2 separate regions of the Homo sapiens genome follow, and region 2 is linked to region 1. The links are contacts of gene promoters, found by promoter capture Hi-C in human tissues and cell types (Jung and others, 2019). All regions are on one chromosome and are shown on one strand. Each heading gives the region's core, a stretch centred on a gene start or on the middle of the fragment in contact. The rest is flanking DNA. Distances are from core to core; before and after follow the strand shown. Region 1 holds the start of OR4D2 (olfactory receptor family 4 subfamily D member 2). Region 2 overlaps AKAP1 (A-kinase anchoring protein 1).

Region 1 (5,209 bases), core at 86-2,585:
AATAATGGGAAGAATTTGTGTTTTTTTTAAATTGACATCTCTTGTATGTGAAAGAACGTCACTTCGTGTTCTTATCCCCAGAGGCAGAGTCTTTATTTTGCCAAGTATAAACATTCGCAATGAAAGAACTCAGACCAACCTGAGAACCTCACGTGGATCAGAGAGCTGTGAGAAATCACACAGATTTTACAGCACATCAAGCTTACAGTGTTGGTTAATTCCAATTTTTAATCAGTTCCTCATAATTAGAAAATATATGGGCTTCTTGTGCCAATCCTTGTATTAAAGGGAGTAATAATTGACATGTAAATAATGCTAGCACTTTGTAGATGGTGTGAGTATAATTGATATGGGTAGTGAATCAACTGTGGGGGTATTGGTTGACAAGATGAAGAACAAGATTTATGGGGTAATTAAGTTTTCATTTTAGTATGCAGACATTTTCCCATCCATGACGTTGCCTATGTAAAGATCAATTCAGTTTAAAAGGAGAAGAAATCAAACCAGTTACCTTGACAACACCATGAAAGAGAACTATCCATTGTGCTGAAGAGCAAGTCGTTGGTTCTCAATGTCTGGTCCCTGGAACAGGTGCATCAGCATTATCTGAGAACTTGCTACAAATGCAAATTCTTGGTCTTACCATTGATGTACTGAATGAGAAATTCTGGGCTGGGAACAGAAGTCTGCCTTTTAACAAGGCCTTCAGGTAATTCTCTCAAGGGTAGGTGTCACTGGTCTAAGAAAGAAATTCTCCTAAAACTCTCAGAGTCTCCTTTTTTTTGAAGACCCTCTTGTCCTTTTGGATCTTGGCCTGAATATTACCCATTCCTCAAATCTCTAAAATTTTCAATGTGCTTGGTACTTTGGGCCCCCCAAGGAAGACCTCTCAAAGAGTGTGTGCTTTTGAGACATTTAGAAACTTTTTAACAACTCCCATTGCTCCCTTGGCCCCAGTGATAATCAGCCCAGCTCAGCTTCCTGAGCCCTGTCCAATAGTTTCTCCCAAAGGATATTCCCCCTTCCCCTGGGGTCTCACCCATGGTATTATTCATGAAGTAAGGGCAGGAGCTAAGAAACTGTGAGGCTGAAGCAAAGGATCTCCAAGAAGATGTACACTGAAGCCCCATTCTGGGCTAAAGGGAGGTGAGAGACCAGTGTTTCCTCAGCTGCACAGAGATCAGCTGTAAGAAAGATCTTGCAACACCTGCTAGAGGGTGGGAGTAATAAGCAAGTGACATAGACCTGACGATAGTAAGTCTAAAGGATGAGCAGAGACTCAAGAAAAACTGCAAGGGGAATGTGATGTTGAAAACGGATGCCTCCGATTACATAGGAAAACAACAAAGCACAGAATTCGCCCTATGAGACTTAGAGGGAGGATGCTCACAGCAAAGGACATCAACGGTGAGGAAAATCACAAGATTCTCGACATTGTCACATAAAACAAAGTCACATTTACCTGCTAATATATTAAGTTGGCAAACATTTCTGAGCAAGTGCTAAATCAGAGATGCTGTCATAGACTCTGGGCTTACTAAGTTATTGAATTTACAATCTAGTTAAGAGAAGCAATAGAAAAAATGATAAATGCTATAATGGAGGTATTTATCAAATGCTATTGGAACACAGAGAAATAAGGAATTAATTCTGCATGAGAGAAATGGGGGGAGGAGTCAAAGGGAAAGTGATATTTCTCTTATCGCCTCTAGGTTGAGAAGGTAGCAAAAGGCATTTCAGGAAACAGGATTTATTACCAAAGATATGAAAATAATGAAATATACTGCCTACATGGAAGCTATGAGTTCTTTGAACAGCAATCAGTTCCCAGGTGACAGTGATACTGATTAGAAAGGTATAGGGAGGCTATTTTTTATAGTCTTGTATGAAATGCTGAGAGAGAGTTGCATGCACGTATGTAGGTATGTTTTTCCACCCTCAGTTTATCCACAGAGCATTTTAGGTGGCTTCTGAGAGTTTGAGTTTTAAGCTGTGAGCAAATCAAATATTATAACAATGAGGAATATGATCACATCTGAGTCAGAGGGGTCTCATGGACAGCTGTGTAGAAGGTGTCCTGGAGTGAGGCCAGGCGCGGTGGCTCATGCCTGTAATCCCAGCACTTTGGGAGGCGGAAGCGGGCGGATCACGAGGTCAGGAGATCGAGACCATCCTGCTAACACAGTGAAACCGTGTTACAAAAAAAATTAGCCGGGCGAGGTGGTGGGCGCCTGTAGTTCCAGCTACGCGGGAGGCTGAGGTAAAAGAATGGCGTGAACCCGGGAGGCGGAGCTTGCAGTGAGTGAGCCGAGATCGCGCCACTCCAGCCTGGGCGACAGCGAGACTCCGTCACAAAAAAAAAAAAAAAAAAAAAAAGAAGGTGTCCTGGAGTGGAAGTAAACTGAAGGAGCAGAATAAGATTAGAATGACCTATAATATTGTAGATAATAGATTGCAATAGGCCAGGTAAGAGAGGGTAAGAGAGATTGAGACAGGGCAGGGGGAGGGGGGAGACCACTGACCCCCTCCCCTGTCACCCTCCATCTTCTTCTTCTTTTTTTTTTGTTTTTGATTTTTTGAGACAGAGTCTCGCTCTGTCACCCAGGCTGGAGTGCAGTGGCATGACCTCCACTCACTGCAGCCTCCAACCAGCTTCAAGCGATTCTCCTGCCTCAGCCTCCCAAGTAGCTGAGATTACAGGTGTGTGCCACCACGCCCGGCTAATTTTTTTGTATTTTTAGTACAGATCCGGAGTTTCACCATGTTGGCCAGGCTGGTCTCAAACTTCTGACTTCAAGTGATCCATCCGCCTCCGCCTCCCAAATTTCTGGGACTACAGGCGTGAGCCACCTCTCCCGGCTCCTCCATCTTCTTCTGTCCCTTTAGTCCCGTTTTCTCCACCTCCCCAGCACTTTTCCACTTCCTTTACCTTCACTTGCTCTATTCCTTCATCTCCCTTTATTCCTTTGTCTATTTCTATTTGTTTTCTTTCAACAACTTCCTTTGTCTCCCACCCTTGGATTCAGTAACATCTTGTAAAATTCCTGTTTCATTCAGAAGCTCTCTGAGTCCCCTTCATACAATATTCATCATCTATTTCTCAATCCAATGACTCTCCCTCCCTTTTCTCCCTCTTGTCTCAGCACCACCACATATGCCTCACTCATAAGGGGCCGCCCACAGTGGAGGGCAGGGGAACTACTGGATGTCTCAGGCATCCAGCTGCATCCAGTGTCTTCCTTGTGCTGAACTTGTGCACCTGATAGCTATTCACCCATGCAGCAGTCAACACCAAGAGCTTTTTAAGTTAACTGTCATTAAGAATGGGTACTGCAGGGCACAAATAAATTGTGAGATCCAGATATAGGCTTTGGACTTAATAGTTGAATTGTGGAGGGAAAATATAGACAAGGAAAATCCATTAACACGATGATGTATTAAATGTCATGTGAAAAATAATTGGCAAAGAATCTTATTACAGAGTGGAAGAGAGGATATCTTTAGATTAAGAGAATTCACACAGGTGAGTAATTGCCATTGATTATTCCATACACTGTTTTAGGAACTTTATATCTATCATTCTACTTAAGTCCTCAGAAAATTCTACAAAGCAGGTATTTTTATTTCTACCTTACAAATTCCCGTGAAAACTGAGGCCCAGAAAGATTAAGTAAGTTACTCATGGTCAAATCACAATGAAATGAAAGACCTGAAATTTGACTTCAGATGTATCTGACTCCAAGTGTCTTCCCACCACTATATGAATCTTTGAAAGGCAGGTTGTATATACTTCTGGATGGCGTTAAGATTTCAGGAATGTATATTCCAGCACCCACTTGTAAACGATCCAGAGACAAGACAGCACCTAGTATAATGGTCTACACATAAGGATGCTCATCATATGGGCCTAAAACCTTGGTTCTGAGCCCCTGAGCCCTGAAAGGGAAAGTAGTGACTTCATGTATCTGTGTCTGTGGTTCATTTTCTTCAGGTGTATGGAGAAAACACCATGGAAACAGGGAACCTCACGTGGGTATCAGACTTTGTCTTCCTGGGGCTCTCGCAGACTCGGGAGCTCCAGCGTTTCCTGTTTCTAATGTTCCTGTTTGTCTACATCACCACTGTTATGGGAAACATCCTTATCATCATCACAGTGACCTCTGATTCCCAGCTCCACACACCCATGTACTTTCTGCTCCGAAACCTGGCTGTCCTAGACCTCTGTTTCTCTTCAGTCACTGCTCCCAAAATGCTAGTGGACCTCCTCTCTGAGAAGAAAACCATCTCTTACCAGGGCTGCATGGGTCAGATCTTCTTCTTCCACTTTTTGGGAGGTGCCATGGTCTTCTTCCTCTCAGTGATGGCCTTTGACCGCCTCATTGCCATCTCCCGGCCCCTCCGCTATGTCACCGTCATGAACACTCAGCTCTGGGTGGGGCTGGTGGTAGCCACCTGGGTGGGAGGCTTTGTCCACTCTATTGTCCAGCTGGCTCTGATGCTCCCACTGCCCTTCTGTGGCCCCAACATTTTGGATAACTTCTACTGTGATGTTCCCCAAGTACTGAGACTTGCCTGCACTGACACCTCACTGCTGGAGTTCCTCAAGATCTCCAACAGTGGGCTGCTGGATGTCGTCTGGTTCTTCCTCCTCCTGATGTCCTACTTATTCATCCTGGTGATGCTGAGGTCACATCCAGGGGAGGCAAGAAGGAAGGCAGCTTCCACCTGCACCACCCACATCATCGTGGTTTCCATGATCTTCGTTCCAAGCATTTACCTCTATGCCCGGCCCTTCACTCCATTCCCTATGGACAAGCTTGTGTCCATCGGCCACACAGTCATGACCCCCATGCTCAACCCCATGATCTATACCCTGAGGAACCAGGACATGCAGGCAGCAGTGAGAAGATTAGGGAGACACCGGCTGGTTTGAGAGTGACAATGGTAGGTTTCTTCTCTTTGGCTTTGTTTTCCCTTTGTGAAGTGGAGAGGGAGCTACTACCTTTGCTCTCTTCATAGTGTGTTGAGGTTCATCATAGCAGGGAATGAATTTTGAAACTAAGCAACTTCGTGTTTTAGGAAAAAAGAAAGTATCCTCTTTGGTGGTTAAGGTTTGTGATAAAGAGTTTTAACACACTCGCAACAATGAGAATTGTTCACATGGCCCCTGAAAACCACACCTTCCTTTTCACCTTCTTGGTGGACAGTT
Region 2 (5,249 bases), core at 2,452-4,951, 1.1 Mb before region 1:
CTCTGTGTTCCACCCGCCTGGGCTAGCACGTGGGGGAGCTGCGGAAGCGCGGCGCTGCGGGCCGGGCCGCGGGGCACAGCCGGGGGCCGGCGGCGGCGCGCGGACTCCGCATCCCGCACCCCGATGGTAGCCGAGGAGCTGGTAGGTCGGGGGCAGCTGCGCCGGGGACCCCCTGCCGGAGACCCGAAGGCGGCGGGGTCGGGGCGATGGGGAGCCTGAGGTGCAGGTGCAGGGTGCGACGCGCCCTCCAGGTACCCCGGGGGCGGGACGCTCCGGACGCAGAGGTGTCCTGGGGGCTCTCGGCCGCCGCGCGCTGTCAGGCAGGCCCATCTTTCCCTCCCTCGTCTGCGCCCCCTCTCGTCCTTCCCCGCCGGTTGTCTGCCCGCGGGCTCCTGACAGATCGCGTGTGCGCGGCTCTGGGCGGCGCTCTGCGGCCGCGCCGTCCTCCCCACGCGCGTCACTGTCCTCGGGGGCGGGGGGCGAGGGCGCGACGCCCGGGTCGCCTCTCTGCACCTCAACTTAACCGGAGCGTGCACACCCGCCTGCGAGGCTGACCCGAGCGCGTCCCACCCAAGGTCGCCCAGCCCCGCGGGCGTTTACTTTTCAAAGGTCGTGTGTACACAGTCTGAGCCGGAGCTGCCCCTTCACTTCTGGAGCCTCGCCCAACTTCTCACCCTCGGCTCGCCCGCCGGCGCAGCCCCTGGGAGTTCCGTGCGGCGAGCCAGGGGAACTGGGAAGATGGGCCGGGACATCGGCCGGTTGTGATCCAACCGTGTTTCGGGCTGAGGGACCGTTCGAACCGAATTGGGGTCTGGAGGTCGGAGGCTCAGGGGCGTCTCGGGGGGAATTTGCATTCGTAGCCCCTGCAGGCGTGTCCGGAGGGGTGGAGGCCGTCCAGCCTGGGGTGTCTGCCGACCTCACGCCCGGGGGCCCCGACGGTCACGTGTCCGGCCCCGCCTGCGGCCCAGGGCCCGGGGTCTGCGATCTGGAGGGACCGCGCCAGTTTTGGGGTTACGATGTGCTAGGAGAGGCAGTGGCTGGATGCCTCGAACGCGGGCTTTCTGGCGTTCAACTCTTTTGTGCCCTAGCTGAAGGTCTTCCTGTTTCCCTTCCAGGGAGGGATAGGAGAAGAAAGGTGCTGATCGTGGTAGGCGGTGCTGTGGCGACTCGGAACGGCATGGGAGCCCTGGGCGTTTCGGGATCTTCCTCTCCTGGGGGATGTCCTGGGTGGCGGCGCCTTCCTGCCGCCGTTAACACAAACCCGGTGGACTTCGCTCCAGGTGCGAGTCGAGGCCTCTCAAGCTGGGTAGGGTGTATGCGCAGGGCAATTAGTGAGGTTAACCTGGGTATCTTTCCCCTACTGTAGTGCGCGTTACTTCGTGTTTAGATTTGTCTCCAGTGAAATCTAGGCTGCTGGACCTGGTGCAACAGTATCTGTTAGTTACTGATCAAGGAACACCGTTCACAAAAAGCTATTAATTCTGGCAACTAGTAGCCTTACAAGCTCTTGTAACTGCTAAGTCCTTCCCAAATTAGTACCTTTTTTTTTTTTAACTCTTTATTTAGAAAGCAAAGCTTGGACTCTTAGCACCACCCATCCACTTTGCTCTTAAAGGTACAGAACATCTTTGAAATGAAGAAGGCTGCCTGACTTGATCATTTATATAATTCCTCTGATCTTGGCATTGAAGTGGTTCACCTGCTGATTATTTAAGACCCTGAGCACTGGAAGCAAGTGAAGTTATGTTTTGGGAACCTTTTGACTTGTGTTGAACTTTTCTTTAACCTCTAACTAGTTTTGTAGGTTCTGCATAATTCTTGGGTGTATTCTCTTTGAAATATGGCCCTAGGTTAGAGGAGGTCCTCTGGATCCTACAGGCATGCAAATCACTAAAGCTTGAGTCCATTACTGGATTAATAGGCTCTGTCTTCATGCATGTTGTCAGATGATGGCTCAGAACTTGCAGGTAACAGATCCTAGCCAATGAGTGAGACAGGTCTAATGGATTTGTGTCTAGGTCTAGTTCCTTGTAGGAATATCTCTCCCATCTCCCAGTTGTTTCTAGGAAATGCATTCTCACTTGGCCACTGCAGGGTGACAGTGGAGGTGTCTGTTGTAAGTGGCCTGCTCAGGTGCTGAAGTCGATATGTCTCCAGTGTAAGGTTGCTGAACATCAATATTTAAAAGCAATTTATCTTGCTGCCTGGTAACCCAAATTATTCTTGAGCTTTGGACATAGGCTGGGTTGCAGCCATATTTTAGGGGAAGGCTGGTGTTAGCCTCTACAGTATTCCCTTTTCCTGTCCTAAAGACAAATGGAGATCATATTTGTGATACTGGGGACTGTGATAGGTGCTTAAGCATTGCTCTTCCCCTCTCCTCCCTGAACAATCCCTGAGACTGACTTTGTTTCTCTTGAATTACTTGAGTGACTTGAATTCTATTAAAAGCACCCCTCTCCTTAGCCTCTGACCCAGAAGCTTGTTTGGGAGGAAAAACGAATTGGTTTCCCTAAGCTTTGCTGGCTAGCCTCCTGCTCCCAGCCTGCAACATGACTTGATTGTGTGTGCATTTCAGGGCTTTGAAGAGCAGGCAGCTTGTAGCCAATGTACCCAGAGAGCTGGCCGTAGAGTTCCCCTAGGTCACTCCTTCCTAATCTTCCCTGTGAGTCTGAATGATTGGGCCTTTCTGTAGCTTGGTCTGTTTTCCTATTGTGGGGAAGTCAGTTGTTTCAGGTATGAGTTAATACCTTCAGCTTGTCATTCTCAGGCGTTTTCTTCCACTATGGGGAGGTAGTAGATCCTGTGGGCATCTTGTCCCATTGAAATCATCTCATATACTGTTTGAGAGTTGCTCATCTTTATGGTGGGGGGTGTATTTTAGTCCTAAATCTTGCTTCTTAGGGCAAGTTCTGTTTCTTCCATGTTCCTTCCTGGTGTAATACCTCAGGCAGTTTTCACTTTTATGATCATTTAACATTAAGTTCCCATCACATGTGGCATCCCACTGAAGGAACCTCCTGGCCTTGGTACCTAATTTGAAGCTTGGGCTGTGGAAAACATCATCAGTGAGCATGTTTGAAGTAGGACAGAGTCTGGCTGGAGAAACAGGTAGTGGGGGAGCTGGGAGCTAAACTTGAGAGGATGCCTCTTTCTTGATAGTTACTGTGCTAGGTGAGTTATGAGCACACTAATCCTTTAATCCTCACACCTCTGAGAACAGTGAGGGTGAAGCTGGAGGTCATTCTGGATTGTTTCAGTGGCTGTCACACAAATTCAAATTGAGGGGTAGAGGAACTAGGAAGCGTGGGTGTGGAGTTAAAACTAGGTCCTCTGGATGGCTTTTGTGAGAAGAACCAAGGAATATTCTTAAATCCCTGGGCTTTTCTCCTAATCTTTCTGCTGCTTTCTAAGTAGATTGTTAACATTGTGTGTGTTATCATTCAGCATTCTGAGAACTAGCTTTCCAGCAATAAATAGCTTTCAAGGTGTCCTTTGCCTTAACTTTTTCATTTTACTAAATGGTGCAGCCTTGTCCACATTCTGTCCGGGTCTTCACCATCTGGTTGTTTTTCCGGCTTGGTTTGATAGTTTGCAGCAGTCAGTGGTAAACATTGTGTTCCCTGTTCTGTAATGGTGGCTGGTTGTGTTCACCGAGCCAGGTGTCACTAAGGCCCAGTTGCACTTGGGAGCAAAGAAGGGCCCTGAGGTGAGTCCTGGAAGTAAAAATATGTATAACCTAGGGCTGATGAGGCTTGTTTCACTGCTGGGCTTAGCTGACAAGAGCCTGGGACTTGCTGCAGCTCTCAGAGCTGAAACCTGGCGGTGATTCTAGGCAGGCTGGTTGGCCTTCCAGATCTTGGTTTATTCAGTGGCTAAAAGAGGTTTGGTCAAAATTATCAGTATTCAGATTATGGTCCTGGGAGCCTTGGAGTTAGACCAAACGTGCCCAGGGGCCACTGGAGTGATGTGTTTGGGCTGGGGAGCACAGCTCAATGGGTAGTACATGTCAAAGACTTAAGGGGAAAAAAAACAACTCACTGTTCATCTCAAGTTCTTAGCTCTAAGGTGTGCTACTGTTCTAAATATTTTTTATTTTTAAAGATAGCTTTATTTGCCTAAATTTGTCCTGGGTGTGGGGAGTTTAGAGCTGCCTTGTCTGTAGGGTAGCTGCTAGCTGTGTGACTAATTAAACTTTTCAAAGTATTTTTAAAAAAATTTCTTAGTGACATTAGCCACATTTCAGGTTCTCAGTGGCCTCGTGTAGCTAGTGGCTGCCGTCCTGGTCAGTACAGGTCAAGAACATTTTCCATAATCGAAGAAAGTTTTGTTGGACAGCGCCGGCCTAGAAAGTTTTTTTTTCTCCAACTCTAAAAGCTTAATTGTCTCAACTTGTAAATCTCTAAAGCATAACATGTTTGAGCTTAGTCTTCCAGAGTCCATAAACCCAACAGCTTTGGTGACAAATTATCTACTGGTTGTCTCCATGGCATACTACAAGTGAGTTCTAGTCTGCCAGTTGGGAGTGGACGAACAGTTTTGAAACAGTTTGAGTGAGGACCTTCAGAAAGGACCTGGGGACAGGAGCGTGAAGCAAAGGTCCAGATGCTAAGCCCTTAGAAAGCCCTTTTGGTTTGAAGCCGTTTATTATCATAAAGATCCCTGCTGGTTTGTCCTTGGTCTCCAAATGTCAGATGTCAACATATTGTTACTTGGTCCTTCACCCACCTGATGACTTCCTACAGATCTCAGTGCGGCCCTTCTCTTAAACGAGGTTGTGTTTTCATTCTGCTGTTTCCAGTCCACCTAAATGTTAGGGGCCATTCTTCACAGAAGGTGTTGGGGGAGAGTGGGGCCACAGCGTGGATGCTAACGTGTTCTGTTGTGGCAGGGGTGGGGAGTTCTTTGTTTCCAGATGCCCCCTCTTCTAGTCCTGGGTGTGCTTTGTTTGAACCCTGCTAGATTGACCTTTGGTATATATAATGTGAGATCTCTTTTCTTGGAGCCAGGCAGCATAAAGGACACTTACTGATGAGCACCTACTGGCATATTAGTGGCTTTTTTTTTTCTGTGTCATTTTTATTCTCTGTCAGCCCTATGAGGTTAGTACAGTGATTAGTTTGTGGGTGAAGAAACAAGATCCGAGTAGAGTAAACTGGTCCCTGGACACAGCAAGGGCTGGACTGGCTTGGACCTGGGCTGGGGCGTGCTCCCCACCTCCTCCTCTGCCCCTGCCGCCCCCCATGCTC

The links. The method cuts DNA at HindIII sites, captures the fragments that hold promoters and counts their contacts. A contact is called where the count stands out against the background at its distance.
Region 2: a contact is called between a fragment that was not itself captured here and the fragment with the promoter of OR4D2 in region 1, in 2 of the 25 tissues and cell types used here (dorsolateral prefrontal cortex and mesenchymal stem cells).

What each region holds. Positions count from the first base shown.
Region 1 is chr17:58,165,647-58,170,855 of GRCh38, forward strand. It overlaps OR4D2 (olfactory receptor family 4 subfamily D member 2), which reads left to right and starts at 1,336. Exons shown (of 2, transcript NM_001004707.4): 1 at 1,336-1,407; 2 at 3,992-5,209. The coding sequence starts at 4,010. The coding sequence ends at 4,933. The HindIII fragment of the contact is 7,868 bases long and covers 1-5,179 here.
Region 2 is chr17:57,085,258-57,090,506 of GRCh38, forward strand. AKAP1 (A-kinase anchoring protein 1) reads left to right here. Exons shown (of 11, transcript NM_003488.4): 1 at 1-141. Among named protein-coding and RNA genes, the nearest start is that of AKAP1, 2.6 kb to the left of the region's middle. RefSeq lists silencers at 1-325, 366-665, 946-1,035 and an enhancer at 565-1,067. The HindIII fragment of the contact is 3,932 bases long and covers 1,736-5,249 here.